Regions from separate parts of the Homo sapiens genome. Here all the other regions are linked to region 1. The links are contacts of gene promoters, found by promoter capture Hi-C in human tissues and cell types (Jung and others, 2019). All regions are on one chromosome and are shown on one strand. Each heading gives the region's core, a stretch centred on a gene start or on the middle of the fragment in contact. The rest is flanking DNA. Distances are from core to core; before and after follow the strand shown.

Region 1 (3,660 bases), core at 42-2,541:
GAAAGAAAATTCCCCTTTCAGCAACAGTGAGGTCTCTCTTCTGCTCTTTTTTCATGACACTTTTCTGGGGATGGGGGACAAAATAAAAATTCTCTGAGGCTTCAGGTATGCTGAGAATGAATATAAACTGATGACTTAAACATTCTGCAATCACTTAATAGAAATTTTAGAATCACAGTAAAATCTCATATTATCTGCAACCTAAGCTAGGGCAAGTGATTTTTTTCTTATCCATTTACACGCACTTATTTGGAAACCAGTGACCGTCAGCAGAAGACAAGCAACTAACAATACAAAATATACAAGATAGAACTCTCCCGACAATATCTATAGTTTAACGCCACTAACGTGGCTTCAGTCACTTAAAAAATGTTTGTATTCAAATGCAGTTTACACAAAGATGAGTCCTGCTATCCTTGTTATTTCTTGTTCCCAAGGACCGAGGGACAAAAAACTGAAAGTTGAAAAGATCTTTTTTTTTTTTTTTTTTTTTAATTCCGGGGGAAGGTTTAGAGTTCATGGGATCAGAAGGTATCTTCCTAATGAGAACTACTCGGACCAGTCACTTTTCTCGGCGGGGTAACCGCGAATCGTGACCAGGCGCCAAGCCGAGGGGCGGGAGCTCCGCGCTCGGCGCTCACCTGTGGCCGAGTCCCTGTCCTCAGGTGGAGCCGCCAGAGGGAGCTCGGACCCCGGTGTCGAAAGACGCCTCTCCGTGCCCGTCCGCGGCTGGAAGAACCTAAGCAAGTTTCAGTCTTGGACAAGTCTCCCCTCTGTAGGAAACATTCAGGCTAGGAGTTTCCTGATCCGCCCCGCCTGTTGCATTTTTTCACTGGCGTCCTCCGACCCTGCCGCCCCCATTCTCCGCTCCCCGCTCTGGGGCTGAGTGAGGCAGGATGGCGAGAGACCCCTGAGCCACCAAGTCCGCTTACCTCAGGCAGATCCCGACGGGGGCTCGGCGCCGCACTGGGCCCCAAGGGAGACGGAGGTGGAGAGTTCCAGAAAACTGCTCTGCACGGCGGGCCAGGCTCCCGCGGGGCTCCGCAAGACCCCCGCGTCGTCTCCCGCGCTACGGCAGGCGCTGCCCCAGCTCGGTCTCCTCAGCCGCGCTCGGTCCCCGCGACCCGCACGGCCCGGACACGCCCGCCCTCAGGAAACGCCGGACGCTTGTGGGGGCAACCACGGACCGCAGGACAGAGACCCGCGGGCGGCGGGTTCTCTCGGTGGCGCCGTATCCAGAGCAGCGCCCGCGTGCCCAGGCGGTGATGTCGCCGCGGCCGAGGATCCTCTGTGCCAGCTCCGGCCGCGCAGCCCGGGGAGGGTGAGACGGCGACGCGGGCCGGCAAGCGGGGGCGGGGCGGAGGCAGGACGGGGCGGGGTTGAAGGCGGGGCTGAAGGCGGGGCCTCAGGGAAGGCGAGAGACAGCGACGCTGGCTGGCGGGCGTGGGGCGGGACGGAGACAGGACAGGGCGGGGTCAGAGGCGGGGCTTCGGGGAGGACGGGAGGAGCCGTGAGCAGGCCGGCGGCGGGCGGGGCGGGGCCGAAAGCAGGTGAGGCGGGGCCAAGCGCCCCGGGTTTCTAAGCGGAGGAAGCTCTAGGCGTTTGTGTTCTGGGCTTGCAGCGGTGGCCGCGCGCTCCCGGAGGAGTCGAGCTGGAGGAGGGGACAGTTTGGGAGTGCGAGAGTCTAAAGACGCTGCCAGGCTGGCGTTAAAACCTTTTGGTTATGGGAAGACGACAACTATATAATAGAGCCATAGTGGGGGCTGTGGGATTGACTCAAATGATGGGAGGAGCTGGAGTGGGAGGGGATAAGCCCTGGGACGACAGAAATCATCCTTTTGGAAAGAGCAAGGGCTGGGGAAGGAGGGAATGAGCACTCCCTTGGAACTGAGAGGCAGCCTGGCTGAGCTTGCTGTCCTTTGGAAAAGCAAAACCGAAATACCCAGATTAATATAGGAGGACAACTTCTGTAGCCCAGATGCTAACAAAGATCAAGGGAAAACAGAAAAGACTAATCAGCTTTACTGATGGAAAACAATTTCTCAGGCAGTATAAATAGGGGAAGCATGGGACAAACAAGTAGAAGGAGCCTCTTATTTAAAAATGGGACCTGGTATTCGGTAAAGACCTACATGCAGACAGGAGAAGGCAGTGTGCCCCGGCTACTACGACATGTGAGTGCAGTGCCAGGTCGTGGAAATCCTAGAGCAGGCTGGGACTCCTGTTGCACTCCACACATGGAGCTTCTCACAGATAGCTGAGATGACACTTTGGCATAAACCAACCCAAGCTCTGACCTCAAATGTAAAAAATAATAGCTTAGTAGTAATAAAAATACAGGGAAATATCAAGCTTCACAAATGAACAATTCCATTCTCAGTTGGGGATTAGTAACACATTCAGTCTCTTCATTTCCCATACTATTTTGGTAATATTTAATAAGATATATTTTAACATTTTAAAAATAAATGTCTTGCTTAGATCATTTGCTGCTGAAAATCAAACAGTAGACGACTGCTAGCAGAATAAATTTCAAATCATTTAACTTTGAGGTGAAATGTGGCCTCTAACTCCTCATCACTCTTCTGTTTTGGCCCCGTAGTAACCCCTAGCCCAGTCCAAATAGCCACACTTGCTTTTGCTTGGGTGCTTCAGTAACTATGCTTATTCCATTCTTTCCCTCACAGTGTCCTTTACCCAACCACCCCACTTACTAGTTAAAATTCTTCTGACTGTTGAAATTATCTGATCATCCAGGTCTCAACTCAGATGCTTACATTCTTCTGTAAATAACTCCTAAGTTTCCCTAGCCAGAATGTATTACTCCAGAACTATATCATTTGTACCTATATTCGGCCGTTTAGGTTGTTTATTTTCTGCTTTCTATTTCAACTGGTTGACTCCTGTACCCTATTCAAAACTCCTTCAAGTCATGAGTAGCACTCAAGTCCCCTTTGTAAGTACTATATCTGCTTTTGAAATGAGTTGAACCTCGAACAATTGGGCTGATACAGAGCCTCGTCTCCTCCACTGAGGTTTATTCCCAAACAAGGATCCTCTTCTGACACAACTTCCTGTAAAATCTGGATTGTGCCTCTACATGGCCCCTGATAGAGGAAGAGGACCCATGGCCTCCAACCACATTTATGAGAGAGTAGAGTTGGGGGAAACGGGGAGCTGACTCCAGAGATTCCTATCTGTTTGCAGAGGGGAGCCTAGAATTTAGGGTTAGTAAACACAGCTACTAGATGTACAGAACATTTCTCAGAACAAAGTGTGGGGCAGGGTTATTTCTATGGATTCAAAGTGTCTCATGATGCGAGGGCAAGGTGAGTCAGAGAGAATTAATGCGCGAACATCTGCCAGGCAAATATTCTTCCAATGTTGTTTTCAGATTTTGAAATATCAGTATGATCATTTTCACTTTAGAGAAGAATGAATTCAGGTACCGACATTGTGGCCTTTCAGCTCTGCCCCATGCATCTGTGCTGAAGCAGTGGGGATGCAGCTAGCCTCCCAGCATTCTCAGATGGGCTTTCAGACTAATTCATTTTGAACAGACATCTTTGCATAGTGGTAAAATGTGAATGCATTAAAATAAAACAAGAGCCACAACTGAACAATTCAAATCATTGGCAGAAAGGGTGGTAGGTAAATGGC
Region 2 (3,753 bases), core at 112-2,611, 1.0 Mb after region 1:
ACAGTTCCACATGGCTGGGGAGGCCTCACCATCAAGGCAGAAAGTACAGGGGAAGCAAGTCACTTCTTACATGGCAGCAGGCAAGAGAGGGTTTGTACAGGGGAACTCCCATTTACAAAACCATCAGATCTCGTGAGACTTATTCACTACCAGGAGAACAGTATGGGAGAAGCTGCCCTCATTATTCAATTATCTCCACCTGGCCTCACCCTTGACAGGTGGAGATCATTACAACTCAAGGTGAGATCTGGGTGAGGGCACAGCCTAACCAATCAACCACTGGGCTATTCTCCAAGGTTGATTTGGAATCAAGCAATGCTTCCCCAAACTCAATTCTCTGGTGCTGACTCCTTATATCTTTTGTGCCTTTATATGGGTGACACTGGAGGCTGACATTGGAAAAGAAATCTAGTACATTATTTAGAGGTGAGATGCTAACTAGACATACCTAGAGTTCCTCAGTCAGAAAGATCTTTGCGAACATTCTCATAGTGCCTGAGACACTAACCTCCACTGTCACGACACTCATCTCAGCAAAATTTCAATTGCATTCTAGGTAGAATAGAGTCTTGGGACAACACAGCCAGGAATTCCCAAGTATCCATAAATATAAAACAAGAAAGAATATCATACTAACAGGATGAGGGCTTTCTGTATTCTTTAAAATAAAATAAAATAGGTCTAATCCTTTAATTCAAACACTGACATGTAATTCTGTTCTTTTTAAATATGTTTATATTTTTGGATCAATTTTTAACAGAAACATATTTTTGTCAGTCTATGTATGAGCCATTAAAACTAAAGGGGTAGAAAACAGTGATATTTATTACCTTGATTTCTGTTGACAGAATAAACAGTATGTTTTAGTACATTCTAAAAATTAATTTTATCACTTTTGATAATTTCTCTGTATAATCCATTTGGCTTCTATTTTGTCTTTGAGAGGTTTCTGGTACAAATTTATGAGGTACGTGTGCAATTTTGTTACATGCATGGATTGCATAATGGTCAAGTCTGAGCTTTGATGGTATCCATCAGCCTCATAACGTACATTGTACCCGTTAGCCAATTTTCATCATCCATCTCACTGCACCCATGGTTTAGTATTTTTTATTTTCTTTTTTATTTTTTTTGAGGTGGAGTCTCACTCTGTCACCCAGGCTGGAGTGCAGTGGCACAATCACGGCTGATTGTAACCTCCATCTCCCAGGTTTAAGCGATTCTCCTGCCTCAGCCTCCTGAGTAGCTGGGATTATAGGCGTGTGCCACCACGCCCGGCTAATTTTTGTATTATTAGTAGAGATGGGGTTTCACCATGTTGGTCAGGCTGGTCTCGAACTCTTGACCTCGTGATCCACCCACCTCAGCCTCCCAAAGTGCTGGGATTACAGGCGTGAGCCACTGAGCCCAGCCAGCTTAGCACTTTTAAGAAAATGTTTTTCTTTAGATTTTTAAAAATTCTAATATACAACAAACACTCATGCTATCTCTGTAAGTCCCAGTAATAGCAGTAAGACACACCACATAAGCCACTTTGAATCAAAGAAGATTCATATAATAATTTTGGGATTTTTCTATCTTTATCCCTTTGTGGTAATCAAGTTTTCTGGGTATAAAATTTAGTTCTTATTTTCAAGTGGTTTTCCATTAATTTGGAGGATCACTAAACTTCAGATTATTTTATTTTTTCCTGTTATATTAAACTTACACAGAGAACACTTTGTGGGGTTCTGGAGCTTGTTTGTGTTGGCTGCTAAGAGATGATTATTAAATCATCAGGAATTTTGCAAGCTGGTTCTTAGATACTTAGTAGCTGAAATTGGCCATGATGGGAGTATTGATATCGCAGAAATCAGCAAATCTATAAATTAGAGCCCTCCTCACACACCATGGTGCTTAAACATGTACTAGTATGTCACTGACCAATTCATTCCCTTTGTGAGATGTTTCATCCAGGCACATGCCTGGAGTAGGAGTTCAGCACAGACTATCAGAATGGCCTGCACTCAGGCGCTACTGCTGTAGTACAGGCCACTTTCCTACCCAAAGAAACGCTGACTCCTCAATAAGCTTCTGTATTCGTTTGTTCTCACACTGCTGAGTCCCAGTAACAGCAATGTACAATAGCAATAGTACATGTTTAAGCACCACTGGATGAGGGGGGGCTCCAATTCGTAGGTTTCCTAATTTGCTAATTTCTGTGATATCAATAGTCTCATCAGGGACGATTTCAACTACTAAGTATCTAACAACCAGCTTGCAATATTCCTGATAATTTAAGACCCAGGACTCGGTAATTTGTAAAGGAAAAAGGTTTAATTGACTCACAGTTCCACATGGCTGGGGAGGCCTCACCATCAAGGCAGAAAGTACAGGGGAAGCAAGTCACTTCTTCCATGGCAGCAGGCAAGAGAGGGTTTGTACAGGGGAACTCCCATTTACAAAACCATCAGATCTCGTGAGACTTATTTACTACCAGGAGAACAGTATGGGGGAAGCTGCCCTCATTATTCAATTATCTCCACCTGGCCTCACCCTTGACAGGTGGAGAGCATTACAACTCAAGGTGAGATCTGGGTGAGGGCACAGCCTAACCAATCAACCACTGGGCTATTCTCCAAGGTTGATTTGGAATCAAGCAATGCTTCCCCAAACTCAATTCTCTGGTGCTGACTCCTTATATCTTTTGTGCCTTTATATGGGTGACACTGGAGGCTGACATTGGAAAAGAAATCTAGTACATTATTTAGAGGTAAGATGCTAACTAGACATACCTAGAGTTCCTCAGTCAGAAAGATCTTTGCGAACATTCTCATAAGATGTGATGCCTGAGACACTAGCCTCCACTGTCACGACACCCAGCAAAATTTCAATTGCATCCTAGGTAGAATAGAGTCTTGGGACAACACAGCCAGGAATTCCCAAGTATCCATAAATATAAAACAAGAAAGAATATCGTACTAACAGGATGTGGGCTTTCTGTATTCTTTAAAATAAAATAAAATAGGTCTAATCCTTCAATTCAAACACTGACATGTAATTCTGTTCTTTTTTAATATGTTTATATTTTTGGATCAATTTTTGACAGAAACATATTTTTGTCAGTCTATGTATGAGCCATTAAAACTAAAGGGGTAGAAAACAGTGATATTTATTACCTTGATTTCTGTTGACAGAATAAAGATGTTTCAGCACATTTTAAAAATAAATTTTATCACTTTGATAATTTCTCTGTATAATCCATTTGGCTTCTATTTTGTCTTTGAGAGGTTTCTGGTACAAATTTATGAGGTACGTGTGCAATTTTGTTACATGCATGGATTGCATAATCCTCAAGTCTGAGCTTTGATGGTATCCATCACCCTCATAACGTACATTGTACCCATTAACCTATTTTCATCATCCATCTCACTGCACCCACACTTTAGTATTTTTTTTTTTTTTTGAGATGGAGTCTCGCTCTGTCACCCAGGCTGGAGTTCAGTGGCACAATCTCGGCTCATTGCAACCTCCGTCTCCCAGATTTAAGCAATTCTCCTGCCTCAGCCTCCTGAGTAGCTGGGATTACAGGCGTAGCCACTGCGCCCAGCCAGCTTAGCACTTTTAAGAAAATGTTTTTCTTTAGGTTTTTAAAAATTCTAATATACAACAAACACTCATGCTATCTCTGTAAGTCCCAGTAAAGCAGTAAGACACACTACATAAGCCACTTTGAATCAAAGAAGATTCATATAATAATTTTGGGATTTTTCT
Region 3 (3,741 bases), core at 374-2,873, 1.1 Mb after region 1:
CTTGAGCCCAGGAGGGAGAGTTTGCAGTGAGCCAAGATCATGACACTGCACTCCAGCCTGGGCAACAGAGAAAGACCCTGTCTCAAAAAAAAAAAAAAAAGAAAGAAAAAAAAAGGAAAGAAAAAGAAAAAAGACATTATTAATGCAGAGGAATTATCAAAAGTAAACATATACTTGGAAACTAAATGACTTATTCTTGAATGATCTTTGGATAATCAATGAAATTAGGATAGAAATTTTAAAAAAATTTAAAATGAATGAAAATAGAGACATGATATACCAAAACCTCTGGGATATGTAGCAAAAGTAGCGCTAAGAGGAAATTTTATAACATTAAATCCCTACATCAAAAAGATATAAAAATATTAGATCAACAACTTAATATTCCACCTCAAGGAACTAGAAGAACAAAAATAAACCAAACCCAAACTTTGCAGAAGAAAAGACGTTAAAAAAAATCAGAGCAGAACTAAATGAGATTGAGACCCCCAAAATAATACAATGATCAATGAAGTGAAAAACTGTTTGAAAAGATAAATAAAGTTGATAGACCACTAGCTAAATTAAAGGGAAAAAAGCAAGAAGATTTAGATAAGCACAATCAGAAATTATAAAAGTGATTTTACAACTATTACCACAAAAATACAAAAAGATCATCAGAGATTAATAGGAACATCTGTGCACAGACGAGAAAACCTAGAGGAAATGAATAAATCTGGGGAGGTTGTACATTTCTAGAAACCTATCCATTTCATCTAGGAAGAAATAGAGCCAGGAAGGAATAGAAACCGTGAACAGACCAATAATGAGTATTGAAATCAAATTAGTAATTAAAAATCTCCCAAAAACAGAAAAGGAAAGTACCAGATGGATTAACAGCCAGATTTACCAGATGTACAAAGAAGAGCTAATACCAATATTGCTAAAACTATTCCAAAATATTGAGGAGGAGAGATTCCTCCCTAACTCATTCTATGAAGCCATTAACACCTTGATTCCAAAATCAGCAAAGACACAACAACAACAACAAACTATAGGCCAATATCCCTAATGAACATAGATACAAAAATCTTCAACCCACATGGAAATTGAACAAATGTCAAATGTCTCCTTTGCAGATGACAAGATCCTGTATCTAGAAAACCCTATCATCTCAGCCCAAAAGCTTCTTAAGCTTATAAGCAACTTCAGCAAAGTCTCAGAATACAAAATCAAAGTGCAAAAATTGCAAGCATTCCAATACACTAACAATAGACGATCAAAGAACCAAAATATGAATGAACTCCTATTCACAATTGCTACAAAGGGAATAAAATGCCTAGGAATACAACTAACAATGGAAGTGAAGGACCTGCTCAAGGAGAACTACAAACCACTGCTCAAGGAAATCAGAGAGAACACAAACAAATGGAAAAACATTTCATGCTCATGGATAGGAATAATCAATATCATAAAAATGGGCATTCTACCCAAAGTAATTTATAGATTCAGTGCTATTCCCATTAAACTACCATTGACATTCTTTGCAGAATTAGAAAAAACTGCTTTAAAATTCATATGGAAAAAAAAAGAGCCCGTATAGCCAAGACAATCCTATACAAAAAAAATGAAGCTGAAGGCATCATGCTACCTGACTTCAAACTATACTACAAGGCTACAATAGCCAAAACAGCATGGCACTTGTTGCAAAATAGATATATAGACCAATGGAACACAATAGAGATATCAGAAAAAGAAATGCATATCTACAATCATCTGATATTTGACAAATCTGACAAAAACGAGCCATAGGGAAAGGATTCCCTATTTAATAAATGGTGCTGGGAAAACTGGCTAGCCATATGCAGAAAAGTGAAAATGGGCCCTTTCCTTACACCTTATACAAACATTAACTCAAGATGGATTGAAGACTTACATGTGAAACCCAAAATTATAAAAACCCAAGAAGAAAATCTAGGAAATACCATTCAGTATATTAGCATTGGCAAAGATTTCATGACAAAAACACCAAAAGTAATTGCAACAAAAGCAAAAATTGACTAATAGGGTCTGATAAACTGAAGAGCTTCTGCACAACAAAAGAAACTATCATCAGAGTGAATAGACATTCTACAGAATGGGAGAAAAGTTTTGCAACCTATCTGTCTGACAAAGGTCTAATATCCAGAATCTACAAGGAACTTAAACAAATTTACAAGAGAAAAAACAAACAACCCCATTAAAAAGAGGGCAAACGCTATGAGCAGACACTTCTCAAATGAAGACATTTATGTGGTCAACAAATATATTATAAAAAGCTCAATATCATTGATGATTAGAGAAATGTAAATCAAAACCACAGTGAGATACTATCGCACGCCAGACAGAATGGCAATTATTAAAAAGTAAAGAAATAACACATGCTGGCAAGGCTGTGGAGAAATAGAAATGCTTTTATACTGTTGGTGGGAATGTAAATTAGTTCAACCATTGTGGAAGATAGTGTGGTGATTCCTAAAAGACCTAGAACCAGAAATAACATTTGACCCAGCAATCCCATTACTGGGTGTATACCCAAAGGAGTATAAATCATTCTATTATAAAGATACAAGCACACATATGTTCTTTGCAGCACTATTCACAATAGCAAAGACATGGACTCAACCCCACTGCCCATCCATGATAGACTGGAAAAAGAAAATGTGGTACATATACACAATAGAATACTATGGAGCCATAAAAAGGAATGAGATCATGTCCTTTGCAGAGACATGGATGGAGCTAGAAGCCATTATCCTCAGCAAACTAACACAGGAACAGATAACCAAACACCACATGCTCTCACTTGTAAGTGGAAGCTGAACACTGAGAACTCATGGACACTGGAAGGGGAACAATGCATACTGGGGCCTGTCAGGTGGCAGGAGAAGTGAGAGAATCAGGATAAATAGCTAATACCTAGGTCATGGGTTGATAAGGTGCAGCAAACCACCATGGCACATGTTTACCTATGTAACACATGGGCACGTCCCGCACACGTATCCCAGAACTTAAAATAAAATAAAATTTAAAAAATAATTTAAAAATTAGAAAAAAGTCATAAAAAATAAGTGGGAGCTAAAGAATGAATACATATAAACATAAAGTTGGAAATAATAGATATTGGGGAAGTGAAAAGGGGGGAGGCTAGGAAAGTGGTGAGGGTTACAAAAAATTACCTATTAGGTACAATGTTCACCATTTGGGTGACGAGTACACAAGAAGCCTAAACCTCACCAATACACAATATATTCATGTAACAAACTTGCAGATGTACCTCCTGAACCTAAAATTGTAAATAAATACAAATTAAGAAAAAAATAATAAAAATGCCTGCATATGTAGATTGACTATCAGGTGAGTTTTCTGTGGCATGTATACTCTGTACAATCACTAAAACTGGATTTCTTTGAGTTATAGAATTATAAAACTTAAGACAAACCTTAAGAGACAAAGAAAACAGAGGGCGAGGTGACAAATCAGTAACCTGTCTGAGCCAACACTCAGTAATCTGTCCTCCTCACTTCTGAGATCTCTCACTTGGAGTTCTCAAACCCCAAACAGAGAAGCGAGCTTTGCGGCTTAAGAGACTCTAATGAAATGGTGTTAGTCTGCAGCCCTCAGCTATGAGACTAACTTACAAAAGTTAGACAGTCACCAAAACTATTTTCACATGAGTTAAGCCATATTTTCAGAAATCTCGTGACTGTGAAGACCACAGAG

Evidence for each region. Contacts are between HindIII fragments. The study calls those that stand out against the background at their distance.
Region 2: a fragment that was not itself captured here is called in contact with the fragment with the promoter of DSEL in region 1 in 1 of the 25 tissues and cell types used here (lymphoblastoid cells).
Region 3: a fragment that was not itself captured here is called in contact with the fragment with the promoter of DSEL in region 1 in 1 of the 25 tissues and cell types used here (dorsolateral prefrontal cortex).

Annotation. Positions count from the first base shown.
Region 1 is chr18:67,515,429-67,519,088 of GRCh38, forward strand. It overlaps DSEL (dermatan sulfate epimerase like), which reads right to left and starts at 1,292. Exons shown (of 2, transcript NM_032160.3): 1 at 933-1,292; 2 at 1-64. It overlaps DSEL-AS1 (DSEL antisense RNA 1), which reads left to right and starts at 1,118. Exons shown (of 5, transcript NR_033921.1): 1 at 1,118-1,321. The HindIII fragment of the contact is 11,831 bases long and covers 1-3,660 here.
Region 2 is chr18:68,535,191-68,538,943 of GRCh38, forward strand. No RefSeq gene overlaps it. Among named protein-coding and RNA genes, the nearest start is that of TMX3, 180 kb to the right of the region's middle. The HindIII fragment of the contact is 3,596 bases long and covers 1-3,159 here.
Region 3 is chr18:68,570,918-68,574,658 of GRCh38, forward strand. No RefSeq gene overlaps it. Among named protein-coding and RNA genes, the nearest start is that of TMX3, 140 kb to the right of the region's middle. The HindIII fragment of the contact is 5,132 bases long and covers 1-3,741 here.